Linked DNA regions of Homo sapiens: regions 1 and 2 are each linked to region 3. The links are contacts of gene promoters, found by promoter capture Hi-C in human tissues and cell types (Jung and others, 2019). All regions are on one chromosome and are shown on one strand. Each heading gives the region's core, a stretch centred on a gene start or on the middle of the fragment in contact. The rest is flanking DNA. Distances are from core to core; before and after follow the strand shown.

Evidence for each region. The method cuts DNA at HindIII sites, captures the fragments that hold promoters and counts their contacts. A contact is called where the count stands out against the background at its distance.
Region 1: a contact is called between a fragment that was not itself captured here and the fragment with the promoter of SLITRK5 in region 3, in 3 of the 25 tissues and cell types used here (heart left ventricle, lymphoblastoid cells and mesendoderm cells).
Region 2: a fragment that was not itself captured here is called in contact with the fragment with the promoter of SLITRK5 in region 3 in 1 of the 25 tissues and cell types used here (dorsolateral prefrontal cortex).

Annotation. Positions count from the first base shown.
Region 1 is chr13:87,330,621-87,333,934 of GRCh38, reverse strand. No RefSeq gene overlaps it. Among named protein-coding and RNA genes, the nearest start is that of MIR4500, 290 kb to the left of the region's middle. The HindIII fragment of the contact is 5,486 bases long and covers 1-3,314 here.
Region 2 is chr13:87,386,024-87,389,257 of GRCh38, reverse strand. The region is part of intron 4 of LOC105370302 (a long non-coding RNA gene); the gene reads right to left. Among named protein-coding and RNA genes, the nearest start is that of MIR4500, 230 kb to the left of the region's middle. The HindIII fragment of the contact is 4,654 bases long and covers 1-3,234 here.
Region 3 is chr13:87,669,223-87,672,676 of GRCh38, reverse strand. It overlaps SLITRK5 (SLIT and NTRK like family member 5), which reads right to left and starts at 1,306. Exons shown (of 2, transcript NM_001384609.1): 1 at 468-1,306. LOC124900338 (formin-like protein 5) reads left to right here and starts at 310. Exons shown (of 2, transcript XM_047430855.1): 1 at 310-1,841. The coding sequence starts at 372. The coding sequence ends at 896. MIR4500HG (MIR4500 host gene) reads left to right here and starts at 1,714. Exons shown (of 6, transcript NR_033829.1): 1 at 1,714-1,841. RefSeq lists an enhancer at 1,078-1,579. The HindIII fragment of the contact is 26,915 bases long and covers 1-3,454 here.

The DNA of each region.
Region 1 (3,314 bases), core at 693-3,192, 340 kb after region 3:
GGGTGGCCAGCATTTATTCCCTTGTTTGTCCCCTCCCATGTTCTGTTTTTGTCCTATCAGAGTGCTCCTTTATCAATCCTCCCTGTGATTGGCTAGTTTTAGGATCCTGCTGATTGGTGCATTTTACAGAGTGCTGATTGTTGCATTTTCAGGGTACTGATTGGTGCATTTTACAATCCCCTTGCTAGCTACAGAGTGCTGATTGGTGCGTTTTTACAGAGCACTAATTGGTGCATTTTATAATCCTCTTGTAAGACAGAAAAGTTCTCCAAGTCCCCACTCGACCCAGCAAGTCCAGCTGGCTTCACATCTCAACGTGACTTGGCTGCCGTTAAAGGCATTCAGTTTTATAAAGGAAGCAGAGCATACAAGTTTGGAAAATTTGCAGCCTGATTATGTGATAGAAAAGAAAATCCCATTTTCTGTGGAGAAATTCAAGCTGGCTACAGAAATTTGCATAAGTAGCAAGGAGCCTAATGTTAATCCCCGAGACCATGGGCAAAATGTCTCCAGGCCACGTTAGAGACCTTCATGCCATCCCCTCCCATCATATGCTTGGAGATCCAGGAGGAAAAAGTGGTTTTGTGGCCTGGGCCCAGCGTCCATGTGCTGTATGCAGCCTAGAGACGTAGTGCTCTGTGTGCCAGCTGCTCCAGCCATGGCTCAAAAGGGCCAATGTACAGCTTGAGCTTTGGCTTCAGAGGCTGGAAACCCCAAGCCTTGGCAGTTTCCACGTGGTGTTAAGCCTGCAGTTGCCCAGAAGTCAATAATTGAGGTTTGGGAACCTCTGTCTAGATTTCAGAAGATGTTGGAAATGCCTGGATGCCTAGTAAAAAGTTTGCTACAGGGTCAGGGCCCTCATGGAGAATCTCTGCTAAGGCAGTGCAGAAGGAAAATGTGGAGTCGGAGAACCCCCAAAGAGTCTCTATGGGGCCCTGCTTAGTGGAGCTGTGAGAAGAGGGCCACTGTCCTCCACACCCCAGAAGGGTAGGTCCACCGACAGTTGGACAGATCCACCCACACTTGCACTGTGCACCTGGAAAAGCCACAGACACTCAACTTCAACCCATGAAAACAACCAGGAGGGAGGCTGTACCCTGCAAAGCCACAGGGTCAGAGCTATCAAAGACCATGGGAACCCACCCCTTGCATCAGCATGACCTGGATGTTAGACCTGGAGTCAAAGGAGATCATTTTGGAACTTTGAAATTTGACTGCCCCATTGTATTTTGGACTTGCATGGGCCCTGTAACCCCTTTGTTTTGGCCAATTTCTCCCAAGTGGAATGACTGTATTTACTCGATACCCATACCCCCATTGTATCTACAAAATAACTAGCTTGCTTTTGATTTTACAAGCTCATAGGTGGAAGGCACTTGCCTCGTCGCAGATGAGACTTTGGACTGTGGACTTTTGGGTTAATGTTGAAATGAGTTAAGACTTTTGGGGACTGTTGGGAAGACATGATTGATTTTGACATATGAGGACATGATATTTGGAGGGGTCACAGGCAAAATGATATGATTTGGCTGTGTCCCTACCCAAATCTCAACTTGAATTGTGTCTCCCAGAATTCCCACATGTTGTGGGAGGGACCCAGGGAGAGGTAATTGAATCATGGGTGTTAGTGTTTCCTGTGCTATTCTCGTGATAGTGAATAAGTTTCATGAGATGTGATGGGTTTATCAGGGTTTTCCGCTTTTGCTTTTCCCTCATTTTCTCTTGCCGCCATCATGTAAGAAATGTCTTTTGCCTCCTGCTGTGATTCTGAGACCTCCCTGGCCATGCGGAACTGTAAGTCTAATTATACATCTTTTTCTTCCCAGTCTTGGGTATGTTTTTATCAGTGGCATGAAAGCGAACAAATACAAGCATGTTATTGTACTGAATACTGTAGGGAATTGTAACATGATGTTAGTATTTTTGTAGCTACACATAAAAAAGGTACAGTAAAAATACAATATTGTAATCTTACAGAATCAACATTGTATATGTGATCTGTCCTTGACCAAAATATCATTATGTGACACATGACTGTATGTGGTGTGTTTGTATATATACACAACATCCATATACTGTATATATAAACCATATATATATAATCATATATAAAACCATACGAACACACACATACTCCCCCTACACACAGAGAATATATGATTCCATGCTTCCAAATGTTAAAACTTGGTGAATGTCTTTGATAAGTATATGGAAAATCCTTATACTATGCTTACAATTTTTCTGTAACTTTAAAATTGTTTAAAATAAAAAATGTTAAAAGCAATCCTCTTATGTTTACAATTACCTGTTTATCTGAATGAAATTCTCTATCACTATTTCTTAAGGAAACAATTTTCAAGGAAGAGTTCTATTAAATAGGATAGTGTTTTGTGGGCCAAAGAATGCAGGATAATTTGGAGTTTCTGTCATTCCAGTGGGAGAGACCAAATGTAAGACAGGATTCTTACCAACAAGGCCTTGGGACACTGCCAGTCTGTCAGCATTGTTTTGCTCTGGCGCAGCTCTCCAGGACTTATGCAAGGTTGGGTAACAGCAGGTCCTGACCTGTAGGACTGGCTGGCAGAAACTGAAGCATGCAATCTCAGACTGTGTGACCCACATGGAAACTCCTGTGAAACAGCACAAGCCAGCCGAACAGGATGGTGAATGACAGTCTGAGAGCGGGTGACTGGGTTTGAGCAAGACAAAGACATCAGGAAACCTCAACATTAAAAGAGAACAACAGAAATTTTTATACTTTCTACATTGACCTATGGATGAACAAATGACAGAATACAAATTAAACAATGTAGTCTACCTATTTTAATAACCTAAGTGCATCATCACCAGAATATTGTTGAATCAGAGACAGAAAATATGAATGTATAGCTGTAAAAATATAATTTAGTAGATAAATCTTACTTTGCATTGAAGCCAGATTCTTTGAGACTAAATATAATATATTGAACATCAGAATGAAAAACTATACATAATAATCTAAGCAAAGCTAATATAAAAATATGTTCTTATATACAAGGTACACATTTAACATATATTTGCTCATATAGTGATAAAATGAACACCACTATATTTGGTTTAAGTGTTTTTTAACAATGAAAGGAAAATTAGGAAATAAGTTTCTTTTGAGACATTTTTGTGCTATATAGAGTACATGATGTATCATGAAGATAGGAATGGTTAAAAGCAGATATAGTCATAATTACAAATTAAGTTCAATTCAGTTTGTACATTTCCTTGAATATGGTACTCCAAAAGTACTTAGAAAAGTATGAGCAATGGACCAGCTTTGAGAA
Region 2 (3,234 bases), core at 134-2,633, 280 kb after region 3:
ATGGAAAACACTATAAAAGTTTTTCAAAAAACTAAAAATGGTACTACCATTAAATCAACCAATCCATCTACTGTGTATATATCCAAAGGAAAGGAAATCAATATGTGAAATAGATATCAGCACTCTCATGTTTATTGCTGTGCTATTCATAATACTCAAAACATGGAATCAAACTAACTGTCCATTAATAGATGAATGTATTAAAAATATTTTATATATATATACATACACACACACACACACACACACACACACAATGAAATGCTATTTCGCTATAAGAAAAACCGAAATCCTGCCTTTCATGGCAATATGGATAACCCTGGAGGACATTAAGATAAGTGAAATAAGCCTGGCATCGAAGGATAAATACTGCACATTCTCACTTGTATGTGAAAGCAAAAATAAATTGCTCTCATGGAAGTAGAGTAGAATAATGCTTACTAGAGGCTGGGAAAGGTAGTGGTGAGGGCAGGATAGGGAGAGTTTGGTTAAGGGGTATAAAATTACAGCTAGATAGAAGCAATAGTTTCTAGTTTTCTATAGTACTGTAGAGTGATTACAATTAACAATAATTTATAGCGTATTTTCAAATAGCTAGAAGAGAGGACTTTGAATGTCCCCAACACAAATAAATAATAATTGTTTGAGTTGGTGGATATGCTAATTACCCTTATTTGATCATTACCCATTGAATACACGTATGAAAATCTCACACTGTAGCCCATAAATATGTACAATAATGTGCCAATTAAGAAAATATATGGAGATAAGCTCTCTGAAGCTATTCCAGCACATTCACTTTCCAGCAATATTCATTATTGTGATAAAGTACACACACACAGACAGACATGCATACACATGTATTATGTTACTTTAAACCAACCAAATGTGGATTAATCCAACACATTTTTACACTATTTTAATTTATTCATAGCTTTTAATGACAATGAAAAACTAGGCAGTTTTTTTCTGAATTACATAATCCTCAAACCTCTAATTCATAGCTTCCCAAATTTTGATGAATAAGAAGTTGTGGAAAGCAAATAGAACATTTGAAAACAGGTATAAAAGGCAAAATGAAATACAAGCCTTTCATCTGTAATTAGAGGTTTAAGTTATTAATGTGGTTTCTTAGCAAAGATTTCAGAAGAAAGAATGCATTGCAGCCATCACCATCTCAAAGTGTTCTTGGCATAATTTTGGATGGGGCAATTTATTAAATGAATTCATATTTTTCAGTTCTAAAAAAATTTAAAAAACTGTCTCAGAAACAGTCTGGTGATCTTTGCTAGTGTTCTGGCAGAGTGAAACATAGCTACGGCGGGCACAGTCTTAAAGGATAATTAATTAAAGAAACTGAATTAATTAAAAAAGCTGCAGGAGTTAGGTCTTCATTATGCAAGGTACTTTCTTTTTCATGTTTCCTGTCACTCCTGAGATATATTTTATAAACTGATAGAACCATATGAGACTAAACATGAAGCTCCCATTTAGAGAATAATTCCATGATTACATGAATATGTTATATTGACATTGCCAGGATAAACTCTATGCTCAGCAATGAGAATACATACAGATCTGAATGATATGTCTAGCTTCAGATAAAGCAACAATATTCATGATCCATTGTGTCATGTGCCATGAATCTGAATATCTAATAAAACAGATTCAGAAAATATCAAATTCAGGTCTAACGTGCTACTTTTTATCTGTTGATTCTTTAAAATTACTTAAAGCATGAAATATCAACATGAGATTTTGATACTTGGAATTTTCTTGCAACCATGGTTTTTCCTACAATCATCATTAAAATATCTAGCATATGCTCAACACTTAATATTTACCATTCTACTTACTATACGAATCCCTTTTATATACATTTTCTCAATTAGTTCAAGAAACAGGATCATGGCAATACTTTTCATCCTTATAAAATTAATATAAAATTCTAATTGTAAAAATGTAAAATTAAGCAATTGAAGCTTAGGGAGTTAAAAGAACTTCTCTGTCAAACATTTGAACAGTAGTTTACTTACTCCAAGAGACTCACCTCTAAAGCACTATTTTATACCAACTGGGCTATATATCCAAATTTCAGTTTTGTGTTTGTCATTTTATCAACTTCTTGAAAAAACTAAAATACAACATATATGTAATCTACAATAATATATCATTTAATTACTGCATTTGGTCTGAGGAAATAAAGATTAATCAGACTTAATTATTATCCTCAAGTAAGTCTCAGACTTGTGAAGACCTACTTCGAAGAAAATGATTAGGCCGGGCACGGTGGCTCACACCTGTAATCCTAGCACTTCGGGTAGATTACTTGAGGTCAGGAGTTCGGGACCAGCCTGGCAAACATAGTGAAACCCCTGTCTCTACTAAAGTACAAAAGACTATCTGGGCATTGTGGCACACTCCTGTAATCCCAGCTACCTGGCAAGTTGAGACAGGAGAATCTCTCGAACCGAGAAGCAGAGGTTGCAGTGGTTGAGATCGTGCACTGTAGCCTGGGAGACAGAGAAGTTCTGTGTCTTACCAAAAAAAAAAAAAAGAAGAAGGAGAAGAAAGAAAAGAAAAGAGAGTGATTATATTTACTGTGATAATTGATCCTAGAGGCATAAAGTGCTGTATAAACAACACTTAAGCAGGGCCCAACTTTCTCTGGCACGGCAGGGTTTGATAGGCAGCCTAGGTAGAGAGAAGCAATATACCTTCAACTATATTAACTTTGATAAACATGAAGAGGTGGATGCTACTAGTCCCCTGCTAGATTCATTTTGGCTGTGACACCCATCGCCAATGAGTGAAAATAATGGCTGATAGCAACTCATGTCTTCCTGTTTCTCTGGAGAATTGGCCCTTGCACCCTTATGTTTATCCCCTGCAGGCTAAACCAATTTCACTTCTGCAGGCTGATCTCTGCCAATGTCTGAGTGACACATACGATACACATTCCCCCTGTTGCTTTAAAGAGGGAGTATGTCTGTGGTACAAATTTTGCTTCATAACTTCCAAGTGTTTCAGTGTTTTAGTCCTCAAATGATAACTCACATTTGTTTAGCTTTTCTCTCTGTTTTCTAGCCTGCTTCATTCACTCTCCTCGTTGAGATCAACCATTTAAATAATTTGAACAAGAATTTTCATCTCAGGCTCTCCTTCTAAGAAACCAAATAAAAGACATGGTGTCACAGCAGTAAAAGTTTAAGATAGGATACAGCTGAATGAAGA
Region 3 (3,454 bases), core at 57-2,556:
AAGAGGCGCCCGGACGCCTCCAGCCTGGGGCCGCCGCCGCGGTGGCGACCGCGGGTTCCGGGGCTCCCCAAAAGGCTCTCCCCGGTGCTCTCCGCGGTAGTCGGAGCGGGCAGCAGGGTTGGGGGGTGGAGAGCGGGGGGCGTTCTGCAGCGGCGGGATAGGGAGGCGGCGGGAGGGGGCGGCGGAGGTCCGGCTGGAGAGGCGCCTCGCGGTAGGGGCCGGGAGCCGGAGCCGGGCGGGGCGGGGAGGGGGAGCTGCTGGGAGGGGAGGCACGGAGCGGGAGGAGGGGGACGCGGAGAAGACTGCCTGGCCCCGCCGGCCCCGCCAACGTGACGGTCAGCCCCGCCGAGCGCTCGCACCCGCTCACACTCATGATCACTCGCACACTCGCTCCAATACGTGTTAAGGCGCGATCGCGGGGTCCCTGGCAGCCTTCGCTGCACCCTCCCCCCCACAGGGGTACTCACAGTTGCCATCTGCATAGGGGGCAACTTTCTCCGACCCAGCTGTGGCCGCCGCCCCCTCCAGCCTCCTCTGGCTCCTCGCACCCTCCGGCCTGGGTTCGCGCCGGCCGGCCCTCCCCTCCCCCCTCGGCTCTCCTCCTCGCCGTCTTCACCACATTCCCCCCTGGTCAGTGGCGCACGCCGGGGGACGAGCCAGAGGGAGCGGGTCGCGGGGGTGTGCATGCATCTCCCGCCTTCTTCTTGCAGCGCACACTGTACATGGTAGTGAGGGGGCGAGCAAAGGTGGCACCGGCCCCTCGGCTGCTCCAGCGAAGGCGGCGGCTGCAGCTCCTGCGCTGTCCTCCGCCCCCCAGCGCAGCGGCGACCACCGCGCTGGGATCCCGCCGACGCTGTCTCCGCGCCGAGCCCGCCGCCGCCGCGGCCCCTAATTAGTATTTGAGAGGCTCTTGCATCCCTTTGGCAGTTTCATCCTCACGGTGTTTGCAGGGTTTTTTTCTGTATCCCTTCCCCAGATGCGGCGCACAATCGTCATTAGTTGGAACTCTCTATCACCGACATCCTTTGGGGTTTCTGGGGGAAGGGGGGGGCGGGCAGCAACCGCGTCGTTCTATGCCTGTGGCTTGTCCTGGCAGCCCGGTGGCTCTAAAAAAAACTCCGAGAAAGTTGCGTCTTCCTCCCGGGCGCCGAGGAGGTGGCAACGCGGTAAGCAACACCGGGTCTCTGAGACAGCTGCTCCGGAGCGGGTGCAGGGCCCAGTCCAGTGCACTTGTTTATTGTCGCGCCTCTGGTGCGAGCCAAGCTGCAGCAGACATGATGGGCCCGGGGCGAAGCGGGCGCTCGGTGGCCGATAGATGGCAGCCGAGGGCGAAGGCGTCCCTGGGCTAGGGCGGCGCAACCGGGGCCCCCTTGGATGTCACATTCGTAGGAAGAGAGAGAAGTCTTGGACCATGTGTGTAATTCGAGCGTGGGACTGTGCAATTCTCGGATTGGGAAAGGGAGGAGTGGAAATAACCCCGGCAGTGCCAGGCTTGCTGGTGGTCAGGAACAGATGATTCCAGCCCTGTGCTGATCGCCTGCCTTCCTCCTGCCATTCAGAATGCTGCTGTCTCGTGTACTTACTGTTAAGGATCCTGGAAAAGGGAGTGGTTCCTCCTAGCTGCAAACAAGGGCGCTACTTTTCTTTTCTCTTTAATAGAATTACGTTTTATAGGTGTGTCTAGGCAACACAAGGGAATGTGAAAGACTTTCAGAGGGAATGTTTGTGAATACATCTGGTGTGTACTAAAAAGCTGGAAAACCCCTAAGTAAATGCAATATCGATAGAAAGCGAGTTTCTTGAAGAGTCATCTGCTAAACTCCACTAGAGTCATCTCTACAGTAAGTATTCTTGGGTCTTTCCATGAAACCAGACACTTCCATCCCCAAAAAGGGGTCTTTACTTTCATAAGACATGTTTTCAATATTTGTAATATTAGACCTGCCGTTCATCCCGGGTATAAGAGAAAAGTTGATAATAGTAAGTGACCCAGTGCAGGCTGAGTGCACATGTGCCTGTTCCTTTGATAACTATGTAGTTAGTTTCTCCATGTAAATATATTTTACCCACTTTATTTTGCAATTAATTACGTCTTAATTATTATTGATATTGTTTTATTCTTAGTAATATTTGGGATAATACTGTGTTATAATCTGGTTAATCATATGTTTAATATTGATATAGAGTCTGATAATATGTCTATGTTCTGAGATGTATATATATCTCAGGTGATGAACATTGCAGTCTCCTGAGGTACTGCAATCTTTTTTGAACTTTCCCCTGCGTATGTTGTGTGAATATATATATTTTTACTTTATACCATAAAAACTTTATTTGGAAGCAATTTTGTTTAAGTATGGGTTATATTCAAGGGAGAGGAAGGAAAGAAGTAATATGTAATTTCAGACAATAAAAACAAAATCTTGTAATGAACGTTTCATTAAATTTAGAAGCATTTGACCTAGGAATGATAGCCACTAGCTGTAGATACATTGCATCAACAAATATAACTTACACGTCATCCACAAAAGGCTTATTTCTGTATTTTTTATTCAGTCATTAACTTTTAACATTATATAAACATTTCAGAAAATTTATTTTAAGTTTAAAATTACTTTTATATTTTCAAAATGAAATGAAATATTTAAATTTAAAATTATATAGGAATTACAGCCAGAAGCCTTTGGAATATAAATATTGAGTCCTATCAGAAACATAATTTTCAATATCGATTAACTTTGTAGAAGTTCTTAAAGGTCCTAAATTGTCTTAATCGATTATTGATTTTTTCAAAATAGCTGAAATAAAGCTGTTATATTTTATCACTGTTCTAAATCTTTATAATTTCATTCAATAGCAAAGTTTAATTCATGGTTTTGTATTATTTTTATTTTAAATATTTATTGTTCTAATTAAAGGAAATATTATTCAACTAAGAAGTATTAAATATGTTTGGAATTAGTTTAGGTTACAGTTTTGTTAGAAACACTTATGCTAATAATCTAGTTTACCTCTTGTGGTTCAAATAAGTAAATGATGAAAACTTTCTGCCATTAACTCAACATTAAGGATGGTCCCGGAAGCCACCATTACCTTTTGCCACTAGGTGTCTCTATAAGATGCTCTGCAAGAGAATGAAATTTTAGAAAATACTGTGACTTGAACAGTTCAGAACAGAAAAACACAAGAGGGAAAACATCATAGATATAAGGAAAAGCCTCAGTTATTAATCTGTTTCTTTATTTGCATTGAATGTTGACTATTGCTTAGAAAATATATAAGTGAATTACATAAGAGTGATCAAATATGAGCCAAAACTTTTACCCACATGAACAAATGTATCTATGTTTTAGTCTATACTAAGCAACACATGGTCATATGTGTATACATGCTTTCAGACAGCACTCAGATGCATGCACTTAATTACATAGATACATTTGGCCATTGTAAAATT